Linked DNA regions of Homo sapiens: region 2 is linked to region 1. The links are contacts of gene promoters, found by promoter capture Hi-C in human tissues and cell types (Jung and others, 2019). All regions are on one chromosome and are shown on one strand. The core of a region is centred on a gene start or on the middle of the fragment in contact, and the rest is flanking DNA. Distances in the headings are between cores, read along the strand shown. Region 1 holds the start of KBTBD7 (kelch repeat and BTB domain containing 7). Region 2 overlaps ELF1 (E74 like ETS transcription factor 1).

The links. The method cuts DNA at HindIII sites, captures the fragments that hold promoters and counts their contacts. A contact is called where the count stands out against the background at its distance.
Region 2: a fragment that was not itself captured here is called in contact with the fragment with the promoter of KBTBD7 in region 1 in 1 of the 25 tissues and cell types used here (dorsolateral prefrontal cortex).

The regions. Positions count from the first base shown.
Region 1 is chr13:41,190,273-41,196,409 of GRCh38, reverse strand. It overlaps KBTBD7 (kelch repeat and BTB domain containing 7), which reads left to right and starts at 1,841. Exons shown (of 1, transcript NM_032138.7): 1 at 1,841-6,137. The coding sequence starts at 2,153. The coding sequence ends at 4,207. All of the region lies in intron 3 of KBTBD6-DT (KBTBD6 divergent transcript), which reads right to left. RefSeq lists enhancers at 1,671-1,760, 2,071-2,340, 1,685-2,391, 2,392-3,099. The HindIII fragment of the contact is 7,226 bases long and covers 1-5,188 here.
Region 2 is chr13:40,972,264-40,978,523 of GRCh38, reverse strand. All of the region lies in intron 2 of ELF1 (E74 like ETS transcription factor 1), which reads left to right. Among named protein-coding and RNA genes, the nearest start is that of ELF1, 44 kb to the left of the region's middle. RefSeq lists a silencer at 208-399 and an enhancer at 3,399-3,548. The HindIII fragment of the contact is 4,519 bases long and covers 1,782-6,260 here.

The DNA.
Region 1 (6,137 bases), core at 592-3,091:
TGCCACTGCACTCCAACCTGGGTGACAGGGCAAGACCCCATCTCAAAAAAAAAAAAAAAAAAGAAAAAAAAAAGGCTTTTTTCCCCAGCTGGTATTCACTGCAAGTCAGGAAACAATCATTGTTACTGATAATGACTGACTTGATTCTCTCTGGTGTATCTGAGGGATATCTAACATCTCTTTTTATTTACAGAGGAGTTATTAGAGCCCAGAGGCTGACTTAATTTAATGTGTCTACCCTAGAGTATTTCCAGTGGACTTCAGCTGATAAGTTGAAGTTATCTTCAGCTGATAAGAGAAAAACAATTTGAAAGTTATTCTCTTGTAATGTGTTATCCATACATGCATGTAACACTGATGATTTTCTTTATTAGGTTATGGTAACATAACAAACTAGCAGCAGGAGCAGTCATGGTTTTGTAATAAAAGTTATCTGAAAAAGTCTGTTACTGGTGGAGGGTGTCCAGGTTCTTGGCGTTTTGGACAAAAAATTGGACAAAACACATAAACAAAGCAAGGAAACAATGAAACAACAAAAGCAGAGATTTACTGAAAATGAAAGTACACTCCACAGTGGGGAGCGGGCCTGAGCATAGGGGCTCAAGGGCCCTGTTACAGAATTTCTGAAGGTTTAAATACCCTCTAGAGGATTCCACTGGTTACTTGGTGTACACCCTATGTAAATGAAGAGAATGAAGTAAAGTTACAAACTCATTTACTCAGCATACACCCTATGGAGAGGATCTTTCCTGTTATAGCTAAAGTGTGAATCAGCCTTATGTTCCCTGCCTCCAGACCCTATTTTCCTGCCTCAAATCTCTAATACTTGATTTTGATGATTTAACTGTTGATCCCAATGCAAATATAAAAGACTTTGTAAAGCATAGACTATACTATATATTAATTCAAGGAATGTCAGGGCATGTACTGATGTTGAATTCTGAGAATCATGTGCTTTTGTACAGAACAAAGTCTGTTTGTTGAAATATTTTGAGTTAAAATACTCCCTAAAACTCCTTAATAAAGGGAATTACATAATCTGTTAATTGATTTGTGGAACGGCAGTGAAAGAGGCTGTATTAGACGACTTGAAAACACTCATATTTGGAGCTTAACGAAAATACTCCTGCTCTCCAGAGATGAAATGTTAGTGAGAGCAGCAAATAATTTATTTTTATATGCTGGATTTGCGTATTTGAGACCATCTATTAATACTGTTCTTTAGGACCTCAACCTAGTCGTCTAAGACATCCTTATTAAACGAGACCAATAGATATCATTTAATATTGAAAATATTGTTAATGCCCTTCAAAATCTTTCGAAGGAATAAACATTAAAAACTAGAAATTCTTTGTAAAATTTTGCGGTTTAAAATAATACTCGGTTTCAAATTAGTGGGTGCCTCATTTATCATAAATTATAAAAGAGAATCTAACAGTTATTGGCTACATTCTAGGCACGGGGTAACGCTTTACTATTCTTCTAACCAAAAACATACATGTATCTAAGTATCCCATGTAAGGTATCATTGAACCACACAAAACCCTATGAAATACTGGCAGGGGGCGGTGGCTCACGCCTGTAATCCCAGCACATTGAGAGGCCGAGGCAGGAGGATAATTTGAGCCCTCAGGAGTTCAAGACCAGCCTGGGCAACAGTCTCTTCACCATCAAATCCAGGAGAATTAATTTCTACTGTTAGAGCAGTCAACTAAAGGACAGCTCGCGATATTACACAAACTACTACTCCCAACATGCAAAGCGGTTTCTTTCCCTCTGTCCCCGCCCGGCCGTCCGAGAGCCCCAGCAGGCCTCGGGGCGCGAAAGGCAACCTGGGAGCAGTAGTTCTCCCGGGCGCCTAGCGGGATCGCCAGCGCGGCAGTGGGGGCTTCCGCGGCTGCAAGCCAGCGGGTCCTGTGAGGGCGAGCGGAGGCGGAGAAAGGGCGCGGGAGTGAGAGAGGGTGAGTCAGCCACTGTCTATGCAATAAAGGGAGGCCTCACCGCGGGATAGGGCTGAATTCAGAAGTGCGGCCCGTGCCGCAGTCTGTTCCAGGACGCGGCTTGTCTTAGCGTCAGCGAGGGAAGGTTGAGGAGGAGCCAGAGCCTGGTCCTGCAGCCTTTCTCGCCGTCAGCGCCCGTCGCCATCTCCACCATGCAGTCCCGGGAAGACGTCCCGCGCTCTCGCCGCCTCGCCAGTCCCCGTGGTGGGAGGCGGCCCAAGAGGATTTCCAAGCCCTCGGTTTCGGCCTTTTTCACGGGTCCAGAGGAGTTAAAGGACACGGCCCATTCTGCAGCCCTGCTGGCACAGCTCAAGTCCTTCTACGACGCGCGGCTGCTGTGTGATGTGACCATCGAGGTGGTGACGCCTGGCAGCGGGCCTGGCACGGGTCGCCTCTTTTCCTGCAATCGCAACGTGCTAGCAGCTGCGTGTCCCTACTTCAAGAGCATGTTCACAGGTGGCATGTACGAGAGCCAGCAGGCCAGCGTGACCATGCACGATGTGGACGCCGAGTCCTTCGAGGTGTTGGTCGACTACTGCTACACGGGTCGTGTGTCTCTCAGTGAGGCCAATGTGCAGCGCCTGTACGCGGCCTCCGACATGCTACAGCTGGAATATGTGCGGGAAGCCTGTGCCTCCTTCTTAGCCCGACGTCTTGACCTGACCAACTGCACCGCCATCCTCAAGTTTGCAGACGCCTTCGACCATCACAAGCTTCGATCTCAGGCCCAGTCCTACATAGCTCACAACTTCAAGCAGCTCAGCCGAATGGGTTCAATTCGGGAGGAGACTCTAGCAGATCTAACCCTGGCCCAGCTGCTGGCTGTCCTACGCCTGGATAGTCTGGACATAGAGAGTGAGCGGACTGTATGCCATGTAGCTGTGCAGTGGCTGGAGGCTGCTGCCAAAGAGCGGGGTCCCAGTGCTGCAGAAGTCTTCAAGTGCGTGCGCTGGATGCACTTCACTGAAGAAGATCAGGACTACTTAGAAGGGCTGCTGACCAAGCCCATCGTGAAGAAGTACTGCCTGGACGTTATTGAAGGGGCCCTGCAGATGCGCTATGGTGACCTGTTGTACAAGTCTCTGGTGCCAGTGCCAAACAGCAGCAGCAGCAGTAGCAGCAGCAACTCTCTTGTATCTGCAGCAGAAAATCCACCCCAGAGACTGGGTATGTGTGCCAAGGAGATGGTGATCTTCTTTGGACATCCTAGAGATCCCTTTCTCTGCTATGACCCTTACTCGGGGGACATTTACACAATGCCATCCCCTTTGACCAGCTTTGCTCACACTAAGACTGTCACCTCCTCAGCTGTCTGTGTGTCCCCAGACCATGACATCTATCTAGCTGCTCAGCCCAGGAAAGACCTCTGGGTGTATAAACCAGCTCAGAATAGTTGGCAGCAACTTGCAGATCGCTTGCTGTGTCGTGAGGGCATGGATGTGGCATATCTCAATGGCTACATCTACATTTTGGGGGGACGAGACCCTATTACTGGAGTTAAGTTGAAGGAAGTGGAATGCTACAGTGTTCAGAGAAACCAGTGGGCATTGGTGGCTCCTGTCCCTCATTCCTTCTATTCCTTTGAACTCATAGTGGTTCAGAACTATCTTTATGCTGTCAACAGTAAGCGCATGCTTTGCTATGATCCTAGCCACAATATGTGGCTGAACTGTGCTTCTCTTAAACGTAGTGACTTTCAGGAAGCATGTGTCTTCAATGATGAAATCTATTGTATCTGTGACATCCCAGTCATGAAGGTCTACAACCCAGCTAGGGGAGAATGGAGGCGGATTAGTAATATTCCTTTGGATTCAGAGACCCACAACTACCAGATTGTCAATCATGACCAAAAGTTGCTTCTCATCACTTCTACAACCCCACAATGGAAAAAGAACCGAGTGACAGTGTATGAGTATGATACTAGGGAAGATCAGTGGATTAATATAGGTACCATGTTAGGCCTTTTGCAGTTTGACTCTGGCTTTATTTGCCTTTGTGCTCGTGTTTATCCTTCCTGCCTTGAACCTGGTCAGAGTTTTATTACTGAGGAAGATGATGCACGGAGTGAGTCTAGTACTGAATGGGACTTAGATGGATTCAGTGAGCTGGACTCTGAGTCAGGAAGTTCAAGTTCTTTTTCAGATGATGAAGTCTGGGTGCAAGTAGCACCTCAGCGAAATGCACAGGATCAGCAGGGTTCTTTGTAAATAGTATTTTGAGACACTAAGATGTTTCTACTGCTACGGAATGTATTTTAAACACATATCGTTTCTTTTTCTTGGAAAAAAAGTTGATTAGGACCACAGATTTGGTTTAGAAAGGGTAATATTTTGAAATACTACAAGGTTTAGACAGTCCATGAAATCGACCTGTTTAATAATTTACCATCCTGAAAGTCCAGAATTAAAATATGGAAGCAAGAACTATATAATTGATTAGGATGCTTGGTAGGTTTTTTTCATTGTTCAAATATTCATTGCACAGTGGATTGTTTTGATTAGTTAGTATGCTTTTTTTTTAATTAATTCAGTCTTCTGTTAATTTTTAAGTTTTGGTTAGTGCCACAAGGAATTTAACTTTTTGATTTGTATAATAGAAAACTGAACTAGGAATTGTTAGCGGGGTTTTGAAGGATGTGTACTTTCCTTCAAAATAAAGTGGTAGATTTTCAAAATTTTACACTAGTCAGTTCTTTATATTCTAAGTTAAATGTAGTTTGTAAAATTATTTTGGTTTTCTTCTACAAAGGAAAAAATTGGATTTATATATATAAGGTTACTGCATAATGATTTCATTTTGATAATGTGCAGAATGGCCTCATAAGCTCACAGAAAGTAAAAAAAAAAAAAAAAAAAAAGAAAAAATCAGGATTCCACTGTTTTAAAAGAAATCTCAGTTTTTATTTTGGAATATAAAATGTGTATTTGGTATATGTGACCAATTTTCTATCCCAAAAAACACCCATTCTTAGTAATGTCATGAATTAAACACCCTTCTAAACCAAAAAAAAAAAAAAAAACGGTAACTTGCTTTTTATGTTTGTGTTTTTAATTTATGCCCAATACATGCTTTACTGACTCAGAGGAACAATTCCTGGACATATAATTGGGTAATGCAAATTTTTATCCACTGGTCATGATTTGTCTTAAAATGTTTACTTGCCTCCCTAAAATATTTTGGCTGTGTAGGTTTGGTGTTTGTCCTAGAGGATTCTTCAACAGAAAGTGATTTATTCTTTACTGTTTTGTGAGGTAATATGGTTTAGAACATATGTATAAGCTAAAAACAGTATTTTACTCAGATCAGTAGTTATCGTGTCTATCAGCTATAAAAAAAATCAACTGCCAGCCAAGAACTTTAAAACTTTAAGCTGTGTATTATAGAACCGTTTTGTGTAGCATTGGAATATTGTCCATTTTGTAAGTCATTGTGAATGTTCTTAATTATCAGCTTGAAGGTATTTTTGTATTAAAAGTTGACATTGAAGAACCTAAGTGGATGATGGGATTTGGGGCCAGTAGTGAAAGTATGTTTCCTCTAAAATATTTCCCTAAACAGTGGTATACATGGTTATTTTATTATGAGATTTGTATATGTTCTGTGTTTCTCTGTGAACAATGTTTCAGTCTCTCTGTCACCATATGTAAGGGGAAGTCCACAAATATAGACTACATTGCACAAAACTAAAATTGTTAATTACAAGAAAATATAGGTGCTTACCTTTTGAAGGTTTATTAATACATATGGTTGTCACAATACGTATATATGATAAATGGTGTACATATACAGATGTTTATGGTGTATAAATTTTTCTATACCCAATTAGAATTATCTTCCTGATTCTTTATTCAATAACATGCTAATTCCTCTTCTATGTTCTATAGTGACAGAATGCTAACTTTTCTTATACCCTGGCAGAGGACAGAGGAGTCTGGTCTAGGATGGGGAACTGAATTTTTGAACGAAAAGGAAAGAGAAAGGATGAAAAAACAAACAAACAAAAAAACACACGATAATGTTTCTTAGTCATTTTGATTGGCCATTTGAACAGTCTACAAGTTTAACGTTATTTCCAGTGAAGTAGGATGGCTGACCTAGCAATACATGTTTCTTCAAAAGGGTAAACATGCTTTAGTG
Region 2 (6,260 bases), core at 2,792-5,291, 220 kb after region 1:
ATATGTCAATATTACAAATTAATAATATTAGTTTTGGGGGCTTTTCTTGCCTTCTGCTTAGGAAAGCTTTATTCTCTTCACTCCTGTCACTCCTAAAATTAGTATATACTCTCTTTACATTTTCTTTTCTTTTTTGTTTTTTTTTTGAGACTGAGTCTTGCCTCGTCACCCAGGCTGGAGTGCCGTGGTGTGATCTTGACTCACTGCAACCTCCACCTCCCAGGTTCAAGCAATTCTTCTGCCTCAGCTTCCCAAGTAGCTGGGACTACAGACACGCACCACCACGCCCAGCTAATTTTTGTATTTTTAGTAAAGACAGGCTTTCACCATGTTGCCCAGGATGGTCTCCATCTCTTGACCTCGGGATCTGCCTGCCTCGGCCTCCCAAAGTGCTGGGATTTCAGGCATGAGCCACCGCCCCCGGCCTACATTTTCTTCTAGTATCTTTCATATGTTTGGCTCCTCAGTCCATCTGCAGTTTATTTTTGTATGATGTGAGGTATTCATGATTTGAAGATTCTTCCCCCACTCCCACAAATAGTGGTGTTAGCCCTTCACCATTTATTGAATGTTTTATGTTTTTCACACTTAAACTGCCACCTTTGTTAATACTAAATTACCATGTGTACAGGCTTCAGTTTTGAACTTCCTAGTGTATTCTCCTTCGTTGAACTGTTTTTATATTGTGCCAGTATCACATTGTTTTCATTAGAATCATTTTATAGATTTGATATCCGATAGGATATCCTCCTCCCCCCAAATTGGAATAGGATTTTGAATGAATTTTAGAGTTAGCTTGTTAAGCTACATGAAAACCCTGTTGGGATTTTTAACTTTTTAAAGTTAAAAAGTATTTATGACTTTTAAAATAATGTATTCTGTTTTGGCTGTTTATAAAATCACTGAAGGCACCAGATTAGAATATATTTTTTGTTTTCAGTTATGGTCTAGGTTATAAATATATATTAGTCTAAAGAAACTGACACTATTAATAGGGTTGCCAGCATTTTGATCATCTTCCCTTATTCAGTTCATATTTTCCAGAATTGCTTGGCACTCTTGAGTGGAGATGGCAGGGGTCATGGCGGGGGTGTTGGAAAGGAAATATCAATGCTGTTGATGCTGACAATTTAAAACTCTGTTGTTGCTGTCTGTTCTAAACTGGGAATATTTGTAGCTGAGAATGAAGCACTTCTATGGGAGAGCAACCCCATCAGTATTGAATGCAATATCCCTTTATGCAATGGTGCTTTGGTTTGATCTTAACAAGCGTGTTAGCATGGTGAATGTATGAGAAGAAGAAGCAAGCAGAAGTCTATGGATACAAGTTTCTAAAGAGAAGGAAACCTATTTACTTAAATGTTCCAGGAGTTAATTTAATGAAGAACAGCCGGCATAGTTTAATGCTTTTTATAATTTTGATATATTATATGAAAAAAACACTGTATTTTTTTTTCAGTCATTGGTTTTAAAAGTAGAATTTCTGGCAAATCATATTTGTGTTTAATAGACTTAAGTCACTAGAGAGAAGTTTGGTGACATGGAAAAAATGAACATGTGGAACAACAAATTTTTATAGAATCTCATCACAATATAAGAAGGTAGTCTTAGCACTTTCCTCTCTAGGGTGTAAATTGGCTTCCTCCGACTGCTAATTCCTGGAGGTTAAAGAGTAACAGTGCCGGGTGCAGTGGCTCATGCCTGTAATCCCAGCACTTTGGGAGGCCAAAGCGGGTGGTGTATATCACATGAGAGCAGGAGTTCGAGACCAGCCTGACCAACATGGAGAAACCCCATCTCTACTAAAAATACAAAATTAGCAGGCGTGATGGTGCATGCCTGTAATCCCAGCTATTCAGGAGGCTGAGGCAAGAGAATTGCTTGAACCCGGTAGGTGGAGGTTGCAGTGAGCTGAGATCGCACCATTGCACTCCAGCCTGGGCAACAAGAGTGAAACTCCGTCTAAAACAAAACAAAACAAAAAGAATAACAGTGCCTTGCTGTCTTTTATACAAGCTGCCCAGTGATTTTTTCATGCAGTGTTTGGGAAACACTATTCAATGTAACACAGATAAATGCAAAGTGCTGTGGATACTGAGAATGGAGCCATTGACTGCACTGCAACTTTGGGAATGCTTCACCATGGAAGTTGAACTGGATCTCAAAGGAGGATCTAGTTTATCTGACAGATGAAGAAGAGGAGGTGTTCTAGAGCAGTAGAGTGTACCAAAACTTTTAACAGATTCTCTTGACTTCATTATCAGTCCAAACATCTTAATTTATGGTTAGAAACTTTTCACAGTGTGCCTGTTTCACACTATGTAATTTTCCAGAATGCTTTCCTGCTTCCCCACTGTTTGCTCAGAAATGATCTCCAACATTCATACCTGTTGCATATTTAAGTCTAATAATCTTTCAAGATTTTAGAACAAAGCATACTTTTTCCAGGAACTCATCCTAAAATAATTCCTTCAAGAATTAACAACTTTATTCTGTTATTTCTATGTTGCTTATTATCAGTCTCACGTTTGCCATCTTAAATTTTCATATACACATTACTAATTTTTTCAAATGTGTTAAATTATTTGAAGTAAGACATTGTCTTTTTTCCCCTTAATATTACCAAAGCCTTTAATATCACTGAGTCCTCTTAAAGATTTTTTTTCTTTTTAAAATCTGTTGAATAAGTGATCTCTTCTATAAAATAGGTAAAACTTACCTGTTGCTAGATGATCTGGGATATATAAGTGTTCAGTTATGGTTCTTATCATATCAGAGCATCTCTGAATAATGAGAGGGTGATACCTTGCCCACAGCTGTCTTGACCACAGAATACATTTTCCCAGGACCTATTGTCCACATTCTCATTTGGTGCAGGGACAATGTAGCCATGTCACTACAGTTCTAAGACCAGAAACAGATGCTCATGGAATCTTTTTTCTGAAGTATTTGGAACTGATCTGTTGTACATTTAGTGGAAAACACTTCAAATAACTTTTAAAGATTGTCATTGAAATTGTAAATAAATAAAATGTGTTAAATGACAGTTGTTCACATTTATTAAATCTGGTTGTAGGCATGTGGATGCTTTTGTTTTTCCCTCTACTCTGTTGTATATTAAAATTGTTTTTCAAAAAAAAAATCAGAGAAACTAACATTCATATAGAACTTTCCTTTTTCCTTATATGCTATTTCCTGTATGTAAGAGGATAAGTCACACCAACCTGCCATTTTTCAACTGGAATGGCAAGATTCTGTTAGGTCAGAGATTAGGTGTACCTCATAAAGTAAGGTAGAAGGAATGAGTTGATAGTGTTTAATGTGTAACTTATTCAGCGCCAGTGATGAGAAGGGCAGGAAGCTGGAGTGTTGCTACTGATCTGTACGTGGACTTAGTGGATCCTCTGTTATTTACCTTAAAATTCCAGGTTCTATCTGCTTTGGTTGCCTTCTTTTTAAATCTTGTCATATCAAACTTAAGAAATCCATTAAAAGCTTGGCCATTTGTGAAACTAATATACAGAGGTTGCTTGTTTATTTTTGGTACACTTGGAAAAGTCTTTATCAAAGGAGTTATGTCTTAGAGTCCCCAGCTACAAGCCTGATTGCCTTCTGGGGGAGATCTGACTTTGCATAAAGGCTGAGGCCCTCTTCAGGTTAAGTGAAGGAACAACCCTGCCTGTGGTCTAACATTTGGCTTATCTCTTTGCCCATTCTTGGCAGCAAGGAGGCTGATAGTTGTTATGAAAGAGGAGTCAGTGTGGAGAGTAGGAACTTATTACTCTTTTTTGCAAAATCTTCCTTTAACTGCCCCCTAGCCATCCCACAGAGGCCCAGGGATAACGTCCTGAAAATGAATAAGATGAGATCATTGTATAGGGTAGAACATGGACTAGATGGGCTTCAGAAACTTTCAGTGGTGAATTTTAGTAGCTAGTGTTTAGTGAGCATCTTGCCCCATGCACTGTGCTTTATAGGGATTATCCTATTTAATTCTTACAACAATCCTAAGAAGTAGGTGCTCCTAATTCTCACTACAAAAGAGTCAAGTGAGGCTCAGCGAAGGGAAGCAACTTGCCTGTAATTTCATAGCTACTAAGTGATAAAGCTAGGAATTGTAACCCAGCCTGTGCCTTTAACCACTAATTGAATAATACTAGCCACTGCAACATGTAAGTGGTGAAAAGTAGTTTAAAATATGGAAGAATTATTATATCCTGCATTTATGATTTTGGCAAAAAAGTGTTACTAATTTTAGCTAATTAGTATAATTACAGGTAGATGGTTCTTATGCCTGGCATACCTGTATATGTACCTTTTAAAAAAAACAGCTTTATTGCAATGTAATTCACATACCATATAATCCATCTACTTAAAGTGTACAAATCAATGGTTTTAAGTTTATACAGAATTGTATGTCTGTCTCCATAATCAATTTTAGGACATGTTTATCACCCCAAAGGGAAATCTGTACCTGTTAGCAGTCATGACCTATTCTTCCCCACTCTTCCTAGCTCCTGGGAACTACTAATCTACTTTCTGTCTCTGTATGTTTGCCTATTCTGGACAATTCAGTTATAGTAAATGGAATCATAGAATATGTGCTGTCTTGCGACTGGCTTCTTTTACTTTGGCATCCTGTTATCAAGGTTCATCTGTGTTGTGCCATGTATCATTACTCCATTCTTTTTATTACTGAATAATATTGTATCATATGGATATACCACATTTTATTTATCCATTCTGTACACATTTTCAAAGAACACTTTTTAAAATGAGGTTTGTGTTGGTCAGTTTCTTGTCAGAAATAGAGTTGGCAACGTCTTCTCCCAGAAAATACTCAATCACCTAGAATAGCCTTCCTGGGTAAAAAAAAAAAAAGGAAATTAGCACCTCTGTTGCTTCTAAAAATAACTTAAAAAAATTTCCCCTAACATTTGACACCTTTGATGTGTCTTAGTTTTGCTATGTGATCTTGAAAATTTTTGTCTCCTTTCCATTTCAGTGAACACATAGCACATAAAAGATAGGCAGTTATATAAACAGTTAGTGTAACTGGCCTTTTTTAAAAAAGAGGGTCATTTTCAACATATTTAGAGAGTACTGATGAAAATAATTGTTTGTGTGTGTTTTAGAAATAGTAACCAAAATTCTCAATATTAGAGCAATTCTTCTTTTGGAAAATTGCCAAGGAATTGTTGTTAGAAATGCTACATTATAATATTTTGACTGGTAAAACATTTGTAAGCTGACCCATTTAACCTGTTCCCACTAAATGTGATGTTGAAAGTACTGAAGATACGAGACCAGGAAACTTATCAGCAGGATGATGCGAAGATTAAAGTTAGGAAAGAAGCTTCCCTCCTAAAAGGTGATCTTTTAGGTGACAGTTTAATGATTTATTATATTTTATGGTTTTACATGATTTCTGCATTTGCCCTATTCTACTTTATTTTGTGGCATATGCAAAATAAAAACAAGAACTTTTAGAACAAAATTCCATTGTTCTGTTGGAAAGGAGCTACTGGGAAGCCCAGCTATCTGTAATCTCCTCCCTCCCCTTTCCTACCTCAACACACACATTCGGAAATAATGTATTATTTAAAGACTTAGGTGGGAGATGATTTTTTAAACAGTGATTGATTAGTGTGTGTTCAGTCCACTGCCCACAACTTTGACATAACATTTAATCATGAAAACTGATGTTTGTCAATCAAGAGTCTGTGTGATATGGCATTAAAAAAACATCAATTTGGGAGCCTGGCTCTAGCTGTGTAACTTTAGACAAGTTTTTACATATCATTGAGCTTTATTTCTTTCACAAAAATAACAGAATTACCTCCCAAGGTTATGAGCATTAAATGCTTATGCAATGCATTTACCTATAGCATGGTACATGGAACAGTCCTCATATTAATGACCTGAGATAAATCAAGAAAAAGCTTTAATAGCTCTTGTCTTACACTGGATAATCTCTATTATCCAACTGGGTAAGTGAGGTGATGAAAGTGATTTTTGTGACTTGCATACCAGTTATACAAATTCATTCAGATCGTTTTGTTTTGTTCTGTTGTCACATTTTTCCTTTGATAATCCAGAATGGCTGTCTTGATTCTAGAATAAGCCAATAAACTTGTGACTCAGGATTTTAAAAATCTGGTGGACTTATGCCGTAAGGGAGCATTTTCCTTTAACATTTGTTTCGACATAGTTTGCCCTGGCGTTGTTCAGTTTTTTTGGAGTACCACTAATTTCTCCCA